5 separate regions of the Homo sapiens genome follow, and regions 1, 2, 3 and 4 are each linked to region 5. Evidence: promoter capture Hi-C in human tissues and cell types (Jung and others, 2019). All regions are on one chromosome and are shown on one strand. Each heading gives the region's core, a stretch centred on a gene start or on the middle of the fragment in contact. The rest is flanking DNA. Distances are from core to core; before and after follow the strand shown. Region 1 overlaps RBM47 (RNA binding motif protein 47). Region 2 holds the start of UGDH (UDP-glucose 6-dehydrogenase). Region 3 overlaps LIAS (lipoic acid synthetase). Region 4 holds the start of RBM47 (RNA binding motif protein 47). Region 5 holds the start of N4BP2 (NEDD4 binding protein 2).

Region 1 (2,855 bases), core at 134-2,633, 560 kb after region 5:
GGTATCGTGGCGCATGCCTGTAATCCCAGCTACCAGGAGGCTGAGGCAGGAGAATCGCTTGAACCCGGGAGGCAGAGGTTGCGGTGAGCCGAGATCGCACCATTGCACTCCAGCCTGGGCAACAAGAGCAAAACTCTGTCTCAAAAAAAACAAAAACAAAACAAAACAAAAAAAACCACCCACATAGAATCATCAAAATGAGTTTTGGAAGCAAACTTGAAATCACTATTCAAGACTTGGGCAAAACCAAAGAGCATCTGAGATTAAACTGGGACATCTTATCCAAGATATCATTGATTATATATATATAATGTATCTCCAATAAGATACATGAGAGGTGTAATAAAATAATCAAGCGTTGAGTCTTGGCCTTCCACGCAAGACTCAGGCCTCTTCAGAACAGAAGGATTAAGATGGAAATGGAATAGAATTCAAATGTTAAAAGAATGAAGGGTCAAGAGCGTTGGAATGAAGGTAAATGGGCCACCTGTAGAAGTCTGAAAGTGAGCTTTGGAGGGAAGAAAAGTAAATACTGCTTTAACAAGAAGTCCTGGGGAATCTGAATGAATTAGATCCTGATCATGGATCCATAACATGTGGATGTGGAGAATTAATGGTATCTAGGGTCCGTATCTAACTGATATTCAAGAAGTATAGTTAGATGGCCGGGTGCAGTGGCTCACGCCTGTAATCCCAGCACTTTGGAAGGCCGATGTGGGCAGATCACTTGAGGTCAGGAGTTCAAGAACAGCCTCTACTAAAAACACACACAAAAAATAGCCACGTGTAGTGGCACATGCTTGCAATCCCAGCTACTTGGGAGGCTGAGGCAAGAGAATAGCTTGAACCCAGGAGGCGGAGGTTGCAGTGAACCAAGATCGCACCACTGCACTTGCACTCCAGCCTGGGCAAGAGAGCCAGACTCTGTCTCTCAAAAAAGAAGAAGTATAGCTAGAAATTCTAAGAATGACTTTGTCTAAAATATATTCTCTGAAGTCTGCAGAAACTAGGATGAGCAGTTCTTTAATCTGATCCAACAGGGCATTTGTAGGACTTTTGTGACCTTAAATGAACTGAAATAACACAAAAGGTCATCAGAGAATGTCCAAGCTTCTCAGTACACATCATTTTCCCATTTATTAAATTTGAAGGTATCTTATATTCAGCAAAAATGAGAGCTCATTCAGCTGCATTTTATTTCCACTACAAAGAAGTCAAACCTAGAACCCATGTCAATTTGCAGAGGGATCTTCATTCACCTATGATCTTCATCCCCTAGGCTTTTGTTTCATTTCCTTTGGTTGTAATTAATTTATTATGGAAACTTAGGTAAACTCAGCTTCTCTCAGCCAGGAACAACTGCAAACACATTTATTTATCTTTCTTCCCCAAATCTACAAGACATCAAATATTGACTAAAAGGTTTCTTCAAAGGAAAGTCAGCCTGGTACACGGAGCTCATTTCTAGCCATCCTTGAATGTTTGCTGTTTTCCCAAAGCTGCTGACAGTCCAGCTATACACCAGCATGTGTTCATTTAATATAAGTGTCTCGCCATGAAGCTGAAAGCACTGTACAATGATTTTTATTTTTTTTGCTTTAAATGAAGTCAAGATACAGTCTTAATAAAACATAGGACAACTTCATTTTAACCAAACCTAAACCTTTAAACTTCAGGCATCTTTAGGTCTGAAAAGATTCTACTAACAACTTTCTCAAAGTTCAGCTTTGTCCAAAATATATAAATATCAAGAAGTCCCTCAATAAAAAAAAAGTATACCAAAACTCTGGGGATATTCTAATGACATTAGTAGCCTCGAAAGAAAAATTCTTAGAATCTGAGAAGGAAACAGTGAAGTGACTGAATCCACAAGAAAGGGAAAAATAAACTACGAAATGACTTTTCTAGCAGGCTGCTGTTAAAACACTTAACATTCCTAAGAACAGAGTTCAGTTCAACTTTTTACTGACCTTCTCCCCTCATACCTTCTTAGACCCTGCATCATCAGAAGACAGATGAGTTTAACTCATTGGTGATAAAAAACTAAAGAAAGGAATGCTGTTCATGGTGTGTAAGACAGTAGTAACAGGCCAGGTATGGTGACTCATGCTTGTAATCCCAGCACTTTGGGAGGCCAAGGCAGGAGGATTGCTTGAACCAGGAGTTCAAGACCAGCCTGGACAACATAGTGAGATCCCATGTCTTAAAAAATAAAACTTAAAAAAAAAAAAAAGGACAGTAGTGACTGTGGAGAACAGTCTAGAATTGGGTTTCTCAGCCTCAGCCCTATGGACATTTTGGGCTGGATAATTCTTTGTTTTGAGTGGTTCTCCTGGGCATTGTAGGATGTCCAGCAGTACACCTGGCCTTTACCTACTAGATGCCAGAAGCTCCCAATCCCCATCCCCACTACTGCCTCCCACATTGTGACAACCAAAAACATCTCCAGACATTACCAAATGTTCCTTGGAAGACAAAATCTAGAACCACCAGTCTGGAACCATCCTATATACTAGCAATATTCACTATCTCAGAAGGGATCTGAGAGTTAAGAATCAAATCTGTAAGAACTTTGTAAGATTTGGAACGAGCCATCTAACCCAGCATTATTTCCTTCCTGCGACTTAAAGCCAAGTAACCATCCCCCATCCACCCAACCCCCATCTTCCCTTCAACATCAAATGAACCAGCAGCCTTTTAGTGACTTGAACCATGAAAGTAAAAAGAATTAGAGAAAATTGCAGCTGTGTAAAACATAAGTCAAAGCCTAGTCCAAAATCTCCCCTCCCTTCTATCTAATTTTAAAAGAAAGGAAAGTGAAAGGCAGTGAGGAGAAGGGCCATGGCCAGGGTCAA
Region 2 (2,801 bases), core at 245-2,744, 530 kb before region 5:
AAACCGTTCCAAAACTACTCTTCATGTAAAATTTCATAAATTCAAATAAACATTCCAACCCAGAAGGGGTCACTAACAAATAACAAATGCCCTACTACAATCTAAACGGAATATAATCCTTCTAGCCCCAGCTCTCTACAGCATATTTTGCATAGGTACCCAGGAGCTAACGATGGGCATTATAGTTGGATACATCAGCTTCACACATTTTAATCATTTCCAGAAATTAAACAGTAAAAGATGCCTGACCAGAGAAAAATATTTAATCAGTAAGAAAGCCGGTATTAATTTTATGTCTAAGGGTTATCATGTAAAGCTGTGGAAGTAAACAAGAAGGAAGATGGATTATGCTTATCCAGTTATAGATTTTGTTAGAAAAAGGAGTACAGCAACGGGAGAAGAAATGAGATCTTTTCAATCAGGGTTGTCTACCCCTTACCTTAAACTGGATCCTGGCCACTAATAAGCACATCTCAGAGCAGACAGTCAGCTCTTTCATTTCCAGAACCCCCCTGAAGAAAGACTACTGTTCTCCATTTCTTAAGGGATTTGAAGAAACTCAAAGGCTCACTGTGTCTTTGAGGTCTGTCGATAGACAGCTACTGCTCTGTATGCCCATGAATAGATCCCTACCAGCGAACCCCTCTTTTCTCTATACTAGAATTCCTAACCCTACTAAGTTATCTTCCTATATATTTATAGGACGTATAATTTTTCAAGATCTCACACAAACATGGTCTCCCGAGGCACCCAGGAAAGGCCTTCCCCGACATCAAACAGAGCAATTCTGTGGTGTAGGGGGCCAACAATGGATTCCAGGACATCCCGGACAGATATCACGGCAGTCTTAGTATTTTGCTCTCAAGAGGGCTTTCTGGCTTCGTTTCTCTTTGGTTTCTTAAGAGGGGCGGCATGAGAAAAGCAGGAGCCCCTCAGGTGAGCAGACTCTTAAACACAAACAAAAGACTACGACTCTGCGGCCAAAATGAGGTCCCCAACGAGAGAACCGCTTCCTGTGGTGGGCGTTCGGCTTTGGAGGCGGCAGGGAAATCTCATCCAAGTCAGGAAAGTGGGTAAAGGCAGAAAGAGAAGGGGCTGGAAGACTCACGAGTCTTGAATAAGAAGCCCAGACGACCACATCCCCAGGACAGCAGTTCCAAAATGCGGTTCCCGCCCTAAGCCCCAAAGAGACGAAGGTCGTGAGACGGGAAGCCCGGGACCCAGCGCAGCGAGCGACCGGGAGCAGCGCGCACACCCCAGCCCCGCTCCCTCCACATCCCGCCCAGACCTGGGAGCATCCCGCCCGGGCGGCGGGGCCAGCCTGGGAGCGGCGCTTACCCACTTCCCAGCAGCAAGCGCAGGGACCGCTCCTATCCCGATCGTTCGGACAGCACCTTCCTACGGGCCGCGCCGCCGCAGCTTCTCCACCCGCGCCCCGCTCGATCTGAGCTCCCTCTCGGCGCACGCCCCTCCCTCAGGCTGCCACGCGTTACACTCTGAGTCCCGGGCCTGAGCCCGTATTTAAAGGCTTTTGCCTGCGAAGGCGGAGGCTTCATTCCCCCGCAGCCAGGCCCTCCTGGATTCTGCCCTCAGCTGCTTCCTAGCTCCCCCTCCCGCTACACAAGGCCCAGGGCCAGGTCCCTATTTCCTTCACGGCTCAGGGGCGGGGAGACTGGGGCTGGTCCTGGCTGGGAGGGCCTGCCCCGCCCCTGGCCTAGCTGGGCAAATCCGCTTTGGCCAGCTCAGCGGCTCCGCCCCTACCGCGAGCGGCGCTGGGCGGGGCTGCGTGCGTGGCGTGTCCGCTGGACCAGGGGACGGGGGCGCGCCGCAGGTGTAGGAGCTTTGCGCGCCTACCTGGCGGTCGTGGGTCGAGGAGGGGTCAAGAATTGTTGTCTAGCAGCCCTCTCCCCGCTGCCCTGTCCTGGCCGAGGCAAAGGCCGCGTGCGCTCCGCGTCTGCCAGGCTTTAGGGCTGCGCGGACACTGGGTGGGTGGTGGGCCGAGGCGACCGGAAGGTCCTGGCCGCCTTTCCGGTCTCCTCAGCACCCTGGAGCGCCGCCCTCGGGTTTCGGTCTCCTGGATCTGCGGGTCGGTCTCGGCGGGCGGATTACTCCTCGCCCACAACCTCGAGGCCCCGGGGTCAACCGCGCCCTCCGGGCCGGCAACCCAGGGTTTAGTCAGATTCCTCCTGACCCACCGCTTCTGGGAAAGAGGCGCCTCCCGTCAGGAGGATGCTGAGTTCCTCATGACTGGACCAGTGAGTGTCCACTCCCTGGTCCCTGGCGAGAGAGGCGGGACCCCCACGCCCTCCTGGCGCTCTTTGCAGAGATGTTCCTCAGGCCCAATCCGGGATTTGGGATGTCTGTGCGTGCTGTGGAGCAGAGAGTTTGCAACATGTAAGTGCCGTGCGTGAGGAAGAGTAAAATTAACCTATGGAGCCTGCTCATTTTTAATGTGGAGGGCAGTTCCGTTCCTTTCTTTCGCCGCTTCGAGGTCATTTTAACACTCAAATCTAACATATAAGAAAAAAAGCCAGGCATAATCATGGCCTTTTATTTCCCTCATTAAGGATTACATCAGGTGACATAAGCCATTTTAACATACATCATGAAGAAAGTGATTAGTAATTTATAAAGGCACATTAAAATACCATATAAATTACGGTTTTCTTGATAGGATCATGATGGTGACTTTAAGAAAGTGGTTGAATGTGGATGAAACAGTTTGCTGTGGATTGTAGCACGTGTGGCAGGATATGTAGGCTTGTTGGTTGGTTGTTTTGAGACGGAGTCTCCCTCTTGTC
Region 3 (3,012 bases), core at 123-2,622, 580 kb before region 5:
ATACATATTTATTTGGAAATGATGCCAGCTGCATCTCCAGACTCAGTTTCAATCAGTTTAAGCACTGAAAAGTATCTTATTTGATAGCATTGCTTGCATCATTAAATTTCTTTGTATTTTTCCCCCAGAGGCAACAGAAAAATATCCATAAGATTATTTTTCTCCGTAGGAACGTTTAGTTGTTTTACTAGCTACAATGCAAATTTTTTTTACTTTTGGAATTTCAGCTCTTATTTTAATCAATAGCTTGAATTGATTTATGAAAAGAAAATCATTTTCCAAGGGATAAAAAGTCATGTGATAATGATTGTCGGAGGATCCAAAAGAACATATCTGAAGACCGAATTTAATCTAGAAAGTGTTTATGATGTCCCTGTCAGTTGGACTTAACAATTATAATGATTAAGAATAAATTGGCTGGCCAGGTGGGGTGGCTCACACCTGTAATCCCAGCACTTTGGGAGGCTGAGGCGGGCAAATCACGAGGTCAGGAGATCGAGACCATCCTGGCTAACACGGTGAAACCCTCTCCACTAAAAATACAAAAAAATTAGCCGGGCATGGTGGCGGGCACCTGCAGTCCCAGCTACTCGGGAGGCTGAGGCAGCAGAATGGCATGAACCCAGGAGGCCGAGCTTGCAGTGAGCCGAGATTGTGCCACTGCACTCCAGCCTGGGCAACAGAGCAAGACTCTGTCTCAAAAAAAAAAAAAAAAAAAGAATAAATAGGCCAGGCAAGGTGGCTCATGCCTGTAATCCCAGCACTTTGGAAGGCAGTTGGATTACTTGAGCCTAGGAGTTCAAGGATGCAGTGAGCTATGATCGTGTCACTACAGCTCCAGCCTGGGTGACAGAGCAAGACACTGTGTCTCAAAAATAAAATAAAAAAAAGAAACAGCTAGGCCAGGTGTGGTGGTGTGTGCCTATAGTCCCAACTTCTTGGGAGACCGAGGCAGGAGGATCGCATGGGCCCAGGAGTTCAAATACAGCCTGAGCAACATTGTGAGATCTCATCTCTTTATTTTTTATTTTATTATTATTATTTTTTTTTTAGATGCAGTCTCTCTCCATCGCCCAGGCTGGAGTGCAGTGGCACAATCTTGACTCACTGCAACCTCTGCCTCTCAGGTTCACGGCATTCTCCTGCCTCAGCCTCCTGAGTAGCTGGGACTACAGGTGCCCGCCACCACGCCTGGCTAATTTTTTGTATTTTTAGTAGAGACGGGGTTTCACCGTGTTAGCCAGGATGACCTCGATCTCCTGACCTTGTGATCCGCCCACCTGGGCCTCCCAAAGTGCTGGGATTACAGGTGTGAGCCACCGCACCCGGCTGACCTTGTCTCTTTAAAAATAAACTAGGTATTGGCCAGGCGTGGTGGCTAATGCCTGAAATCCCAACACTTTGGGAGGCCGAGGTGGGCAGATCACAAGGTCAAGAGATTGAGATCATCCTGGCCAACATGGTGAAACCCCATCTCTACTAAAAATACAAAAATTAGCTGGGCATGGTGCTGCGCACCTGTAGTCCCAGCTACTCGGGAGGCTGAGGCAAGAGAATAGCTTGAACCTGGGAGGCAGAGGTTGCAGTGAGCCAAGATCCTGCCACTCCACTCCAGCCTGGCGAAAGAGCAACACTCTGTCTCCAAAAGAAAAAATATATATACAAAAATTAGCCGGGCATGGTGGTGTGTGCCTGTAGTCCCAGCTACTTGGGAGGCTGAGGCAGGAAAATTGCTTGAACCCGAGAGACAGAGGTTGTGGTGAGCCAAGATCATGCCACTGCACTCCAGTCTGGGCAACAGAGCAAGACTCTGTCTCAAAAATAAATAAATAAGTAAATAAATAAATAAACTAGGTATTTTTTTTTTTTATCTAAAGTGGTGATGTTTTAAATGATTGCTTTATATATTGGGGTCTAAATCTTAAATATGTTTAAATTAGACAAATTCTATTTGAAAAAATTAATGCTCCAGTATTAGTAATATTCTGTATGTTCCTAGTTCCTATAAAGACATTTAAGGCCGGGTGCAGTGGCTCACGCCTGTACTCCTAGCACTTTGGGAGGCCGAGGCGGGTGGATCACTTGAGCCCAGGAGTTCAAGACCAGCCTGGGCAACATGGCAAAACCCCATCTCTACAAAAATACAAAAATTAGCTGGGTGGCTGAGTTGCTGGGTGGTGGTGGGCACCTCTAGTTCTAGCTACCCAGGAGGTTGAGGTGGGAGGATCACCTGAGCCCAGGAGGTTGAGGCTGCAGTGAGCTGTGATCGTGCCACTGCACTCCAGCCTGGGTGACAGAATGAGACCCCGTCTCAAAAATAAATAAATAAAAATAGTAATTTAAAACATTTTAATGAACTAGTAGCTCATCATAGTTTGAAAACCCAAGAATTTGATTCAGCACTGAGTGACAGAATGTGGGGACTTTGAAAACCAGTAATTGTAAGTGATTTAGTCTTCAAGCAGCACTGCTGGCAAGCTAAAAATACATGTGAAGGATAGAACCACTATCAGCTTCTAGAATGGTTAGAGTAATGTCCTTTGAAAGGAGTTTTTCTTTTGCTAAAGAAAAATTTCTAACATAAAAGGAAGTAAATTATGAACTTTCTGATGCTTTCTAAATTACCAGGAAAAGATCAGATTCTGGTATATGATGAGCATTAGACTAAAATGATGGATTAGGGTCTGATAAAGTTGGTGCTACTCCCACGACATTTGGAGGAGGTATGGAGCAGCATGGATTACTTGGCTGGGTTATGAGCCTTGGGATTTGCAGAGATTATATGTAGATAGACTCATCACAGTTCTACTCATATGTAAGATGACAAAGAGAAGTTAATCAGACTCCTCATAAAATCAGGCCTCTAGTGCTGCACTCTACCAATAAGCATTGAGTCATGCTGTAAGAGCAATAGACTAAATGGAACACTAATGGCCTAAAAAGAGAATGTGCCCTCTAAGCTGCTAACTTATTGCGTAGGCACAACTCAGGCGGTGGGGAGAAAGCCCATTA
Region 4 (2,940 bases), core at 224-2,723, 570 kb after region 5:
TGAGTACTTTGGTTTATCTAGAGGTTGTGTGTTACGCCGCTGACCACCTTTCACCTTTTAGAATCGGCACCTGCAATTCTCAAATGCTCTGGATCTAATTGCCAACCTTTTGAGCTCAAAACTTCGGCAACTCCTTCATGTTGGGTTGTCAACCCTTTGCTTTCCCTCCCCTGAGAAATTCGTATGACCTTGCCTTAAAACTTTTAAAGAATACATTTTAAAATCTATATTCCTGCTAAAGAAAACAGTGAGTCATTAAAATACCACCAGATAAAAAAAAAAGGTTTGATTTTTAGTTCAGGTCGGTAATGGCCTGTAAGTACCTTGAAGATGGTATCTTCCTATCACTTATGCCTTGGGACAGTACCCAAGAGTGGCTGAACTTTTACCTAATTAAAAAATGAGTCATTTATTTGAAAAATTCCACTTCCATTTATTTTATCTGATTTCTTAAATATCCGGTCAACTGCTAATTTGTCAGATGTCATAATTCGTCAGTCCTACCCTTTTCTACAGGCTGAATTTTTAATTTGAAACAACTACACCTCTACCGAGTGTTACTTTCAGACGTAAATTACTGCAGGAAGACCCCCCTCTGCCTTGGTTAACACTTAAATGAGATGCCTCCTGTCCAGGACGCTTCCTCAGTCTCACTGTAATAATCTGAGTCTAAAGTCACCTGTGCTTCTGGGCGGTCCAATCATGTATTTTCAAGAGTGAAAAAAAAAAATCAGTTTCTTTTATGGGAAAAGATTCATCACTACAGGAAACACGATGGGACTGACTGTATATGATTATCTGCCTTCCCAGAGGTTGACCCTTTTAAAACCGTTTTATAAACCCTTTATTTCCCACTAAATATACCAAGAGACAGAAGATGAGTGATAGCATGAGGGATAAGAGCTAAAGAGAGAAGAATAAGAAAAAAATATACACTTCAAAAATTGGGACCCAAATGTAAGATTAAGGGACAATAGTTAGAAGGACTACCAAAAACCACCTTACCTTTCCTTGTTAAGTTTTTGGAGCCGCCCACTTCAGAAATTAACACCATTCACAGCCCAGGAGCAACTTAACACAGCTAGGAAGTCACCTACAACATCTTCTCGTCCGCCTTCTTTTTAATGTAAAACCAAAATAAGGAGTGTCCAGCGACTCCCCACCGCGCCGCTTAAAGCAACAGAGCGTTTTAGGCTTAACTCCCAGGCTCTGGGAATTCCAGTGGGTCAGAATTGCTTAACCTTGGAGACTTGCAGAGAGAAAGTCTCCAGGAGGACCGCTCCCCAAACCCTGGTTTCTCTCTATCCCAAGCTGCACATTCCACAGTGGAAAGCGGGAGCGGCGACCCGAAGGCAGCGAAGTTCTCTCGGGCTCAGCTCCCGAGGCCGGGAGCGCGCGGCGGTTCCACCCGCAGAGCGGCGCCGCGTCCCGGCTGCGTGGGGCGCTGCGCACGGGAGCGCTCAGCGTCTAGTCTGCGGGCCCTTCCCGGTTCCCTCCCTCTCTCCTCCCGCCGCCCGCCCCCTGCCGAGGCCATCCGCCTCACAGTAGCAAGGTTGTCTCTCGTCTACTCCCTTCCCTTAAACTCACCAAACCAGATTTTTACTCCCAACACCGGCAACTTCCCGTAAATCTGCCCTGAAATTTTATCCTGCTGGCTGAGCCTCCCCTGGCTAAAGGCCAGTGCCACATTCCTGTTGTTTTTTAGGAGCGCAGATACCTTTGCTGAAGGTTCAAAGAAAATCGGCCTTGATGGCAGAGATTGGGGGACTTGACCAGACGGACTTCTCTCCCCGCCCCAAAAGTCACATGCCTTTCAGACACCCAGAAGTGGCACCTGCTCCACCTGGGGGCATCTGTCCGAGTCAGACGCTCGGCCCCCTTCGGGCTGCTCCGAGAAACCCAGCCAGAACCACGTTGGAGAAATTAGGAACCTGCTGCTGAATTTCAAGCCGATCGGAACCGCCCCGCTCCCCTTCTTCCCCCCATAAACAAGTCGCTGGACGAGGTGGGATCTCTGCGACCCCCGCGTGCCCGGGGAGAGCTCCCGGGGCGAGCTCCCGGGGCGTCCTTACCTGGGGCCGAGCATGGCTTGGCCGCGCGCAGGCAGGAGCGTCACGCGGACGGGGCCCTGACCTTTGCCGGGGCCTTCGCAGCAGGGCCTGGGGCCTGGGCGCTGCTCGTTCAGAAGTGGCTCATTTTAGTGCGCTCTGACCTAGAGTTACGGAGGGTTTCTAGAAAGGGAACAAAAAAACACTGCATTTAGAAACAGCAGCCAAGCCCTCGCTTCACCTTGCCTGCTCTCTGGGGAGTTGGCTCGAACCCCCACCCCATCCCAATTCCCAAGAAACCCAGATGTCCGCAATCCGCGCCCCACCCCCTCCGCCTTACCTGTTTATACAAGAGTTAAGGAGCCTCCCGCATTTCAGTGGAGCGCTAAGCCTGTTTGTAGGCGCGGAATGGGCCAACAGGAATCGAATTCTGTGACTAAACAAACTAGAAGAGGAAGCAGGCACCACCAGGAACCTAAAACAGAGTTGTGATTTCGGGTTGCAGTGTCATTCAGCTGAGGGGAAAGAAAAAAATACCGGGCTACTTTAGTGAAAGAATGTTCCAAAAATGGTTCTTTGCTGGTTGAGTTAACACATGCAAAGAGCTTAGAACGGTGCCTAGCACACAGTGTTAGCTGCCGTTATTGTTGTTGTTATTCTTCTTATTATTATTTACATTATGGCTTTTTTCTGAAGAAGAGTGTGTGGTCAGAGTTAGACATGGGCTGTAGCACCAGCATTGCCACTCACCAGCTGTGAGGCCATGAGCAAGATATTTAATCTCTCCCAGCCTCAGTTTCTGGAAGATTCTAACGATGGGATTTTTACAAACAGTTTATATTCATTGCTGACAGTCTTGAATACAATGGGAAATAAAGTCCCTGTAAAGGGT
Region 5 (2,891 bases), core at 1-2,500:
CACTTTGTCATGAGGTTATTTCGCTTCTCTATTCTGGGAAAAACCACTGCAAGTGGAATGAAAAGTAACCGCAAAGGGAGGGGACGGAGGAAGTAAAAAACAGGCAAAACCACCACCACTACCATCACCACCACCACCACCAACCAGAAAGCAAAGGTGAAAAATTTGCGTACCCTGAAAACACTAAACATTTCACATCAGAACCCAGAACAAATAAACCAGGGAAAGCAGAGTTGAGAGAAAAAAAATGGTGCAGGCTTGGGGACGGACTCATACTACAGCGGTCGCAAGAGGGAAGAGCACGTCTTTGCTTTTTCTTGGCATCCGAAAACTCAAGCTCGAACTGGGGGCAAAGGCCAGCGGCTGCGGTTCCACCGGCTAAGGCGCACACATTCCCCGAGCTCAGACCGCACGCTGGCAGGGCCGATGGGGCTGGGCAGCCTCCCTCCACCCCGTGGCAGTCGCCTACCCCTTTGTCTCCCCGTGGGGCTCCGAGGCCGCGCGCCCGGAAGCCCCCCGCGGGAGGGCCGCGCGCGAGAAGGCGGGTTCCCGTGCCCGCCGCAGCGGCCACGGCCCTAGTCAGGCAATGCCGAGGCCGGTCGCTCGCCTCGCCGTCCCTCCCAACTTGCAGCCTGGACCCCGCGCGCGTCAGGGCTCGTCCCAGCTCTGCTTTCCTTTCTCCCCTCACCTCGCGAGGCCGACCTTGTGTTTGTTTTGTTTTTTGGGGCTCGGGAGAGTGCCGAGGGCTAGAAACAGCTGTGGTTTACCGCGCCGCTTATTTTGGCAAAAATTCCGGGCCTGTTGCAATGTTCCCCAGCGCCAAACAGCTCCCGCCTTCCCCCCAAGCAGAACCCGACACTCGAAGAAGGGCTTGCTCCTCCAGGGACCCCCTGATAAGAAAAGTGGGGACCACGGCCCGCTCTCGGGCGAGACTTGGGGGGTGGGCGACCGGAAGCAGCCGAACCGGCCGGGCAGGGCTTGCTCTCCAACGGGAGAGCGGGAGCGGGAGAGGTGGGAGCGCCCGCGGGCTCAAGTCCCCCGGGCCGCCGCGCCGAGGCGGAGCTCGGGGACGAAGCAGAGGTCGTGGCGGACAGCCGGCGGGCTTGGGGGGGGGCGGTGGGCGGCGATCCACCTGGGCGACGTGGCAGCCATTGCCGGCGCCTCGAGACCCCTCCCCACCCGGCCGCCCACCCGCCCTCTCGCGGCGGGCTTCTGCGCGGCTGCTCTTCCCCGGCCGGACGGAGAGCGGCAGTGTCTCCCCGCCGGGCGCGCTCGCCGTGTCTCCCCCGCGGCCGCAGCTGCTTGCTAGCCTTGCGCGGCGCGGGAGAGCGCAGTGGCGCCGGCGGGAAAGGGCTGCGGACCTGCGGCGCCGCGTTGTGCGTTCGACGACGCGGCACCGGCTTCGACGCCCTCTGCCCGCTCCAGAAGCAGGTAAAGGCGGCGGGTGGGAGGCAGGGAGGCGGGTCCAAGGTGAGGGCCCTGGAGGTTAGGGGTCCCGGGGCTCCGAGCCGAAGCGGAGGGCCTGAAGCAGCGGCGGGCGGCGCGGCGAATGAACCCCCAAGCCCTGAATGTGGGGCCCGGCGCGGGCCGCCTCCGATCTGACCCGCGGGCCCGGCTGCCCGGACGGAAGGGAAGTGAGGCGTCGGCGAGAGGCGGGCCCTGGCGCTCAGCCCGAGGCCGGGCGAAGGCGGGGGCCGCGGCCGCTTCCTTGGCCTCCGAGTGCCTGGCGGGCCTCCAGGCCCCAGACACACCCCTCTCGACCCCCCGAGGTTTCCTCCCAGATCTGTTCCCGCCGGGACCTGACCTTGCGCCCCTCCAGGCGCCTTAGGTGTTTGCCAGGCGGAGCCTTCTGGGAACTTCAGGCCACCTTCCTGAGCACATAGTCCTAGCAGAGCCGTTTATTTACTCAGTTCAAGTCCAGACACACAGCCACTCACACGTTCGGATTTTGGAGACTGCGGGGAGACTTTCCCCTCCCCGGCATTTGTGTGTCTTTGGCCCTCGTCCCGCCTCCCCTGCCCCCATCTGCAACTTTGTCCCTCAATGGGACCCTTCTAGAGCCCCTCTCTCATCGGGACTCTCTCTAAGCCGTCCGTTTGGAAATTCATCCTCAATAGAGTGAGTCATCTTAGCGGGGGCACAGTTTATCTCTCATGCGCTTTTGGTTAAAATAGTTTTTTTTTTCCCTCCGAAAGAGAGCTAGAGTAATAGAATGTAGATGACAGGTCAGTGTCAGTGTTGGCTTCAAAGGCTCTTCCTTTCGGCGGCAGTCTTTGTAACTAGGATCTGATATTTGTGGCACGGACAGGTTTGTACACATTCTCGCCATGCAGTGGTTGTAATGTCTCCATGGCACAGTTCTGGCTTGAAGGCAGGATTGGCTGCTTTTTCTACTCGACATCTTTGAGCCAATCAGCAAGGGCTGCTTGCCTGGAGACTGGTTAACTCAGTAAAGGTGGCCATTGGTTGAGCTCCTAGAAGAAAATCCTGGAGATGAACCTAGCCTCTCAGAAAACAATGACTGATTTGCAGCTGTATTAAAAAAATGTTTTCTTTTAATCCCAACATCAGCCTTTTCACTCCGTTTTTATTACTTCCAGTGTTTTTCTTTCAAACACCAGCTGTCTTTTGTAACTCGTTTTAACTCTCATCCTTTAATTTTAACTAAAAGACGCGCTTTAGGAAATGTAAACATCGTGTGTTCTGTGTTTTGATAAACGTGGTTCCATCTGCCTTTCTAACATTGTTTACTGCTAAAGGTCAGAAATAAACAGTTTTGAGTTTCGCTGCCAGGACCTTTTATTATTTAAGTGCCGTGCTAGGATGGGGGGTAGGAGCGAGGGGCTGTAGTGGTGGACATGGTGGGAAGAATAGGAAATAAATGGCTGCTC

Evidence for each region. Contacts are between HindIII fragments. The study calls those that stand out against the background at their distance.
Region 1: a contact is called between a fragment that was not itself captured here and the fragment with the promoter of N4BP2 in region 5, in 3 of the 25 tissues and cell types used here (dorsolateral prefrontal cortex, lymphoblastoid cells and small bowel).
Region 2: the fragment with the promoter of UGDH here is called in contact with the fragment with the promoter of N4BP2 in region 5 in 2 of the 25 tissues and cell types used here (adrenal gland and mesendoderm cells).
Region 3: a contact is called between a fragment that was not itself captured here and the fragment with the promoter of N4BP2 in region 5, in 2 of the 25 tissues and cell types used here (dorsolateral prefrontal cortex and lymphoblastoid cells).
Region 4: the fragment with the promoter of RBM47 here is called in contact with the fragment with the promoter of N4BP2 in region 5 in 1 of the 25 tissues and cell types used here (IMR-90 fibroblasts).

Annotation. Positions count from the first base shown.
Region 1 is chr4:40,611,587-40,614,441 of GRCh38, forward strand. The region is part of intron 1 of RBM47 (RNA binding motif protein 47); the gene reads right to left. Among named protein-coding and RNA genes, the nearest start is that of RBM47, 17 kb to the right of the region's middle. RefSeq lists an enhancer at 2,758-2,817. The HindIII fragment of the contact is 4,638 bases long and covers 1-2,855 here.
Region 2 is chr4:39,525,945-39,528,745 of GRCh38, forward strand. UGDH (UDP-glucose 6-dehydrogenase) reads right to left here and starts at 1,495. Exons shown (of 12, transcript NM_003359.4): 1 at 1,339-1,495. UGDH-AS1 (UGDH antisense RNA 1) reads left to right here and starts at 1,895. Exons shown (of 5, transcript NR_047679.1): 1 at 1,895-2,394. RefSeq lists silencers at 1,210-1,389, 1,640-1,939 and an enhancer at 2,320-2,379. The HindIII fragment of the contact is 14,033 bases long and covers 1-2,801 here.
Region 3 is chr4:39,473,564-39,476,575 of GRCh38, forward strand. The region is part of intron 10 of LIAS (lipoic acid synthetase); the gene reads left to right. Among named protein-coding and RNA genes, the nearest start is that of LIAS, 16 kb to the left of the region's middle. The HindIII fragment of the contact is 7,806 bases long and covers 1-3,012 here.
Region 4 is chr4:40,628,391-40,631,330 of GRCh38, forward strand. RBM47 (RNA binding motif protein 47) reads right to left here and starts at 1,474. Exons shown (of 7, transcript NM_001098634.2): 1 at 1,006-1,474. RefSeq lists enhancers at 331-1,207, 1,208-2,085, 1,268-1,337. The HindIII fragment of the contact is 13,848 bases long and covers 1-2,940 here.
Region 5 is chr4:40,055,600-40,058,490 of GRCh38, forward strand. N4BP2 (NEDD4 binding protein 2) reads left to right here and starts at 1,251. Exons shown (of 18, transcript NM_018177.6): 1 at 1,251-1,431. It also overlaps the pseudogene LOC344967. RefSeq lists silencers at 463-672, 1,013-1,472, 1,523-1,872 and enhancers at 2,063-2,112, 2,213-2,312. The HindIII fragment of the contact is 26,276 bases long and covers 1-2,891 here.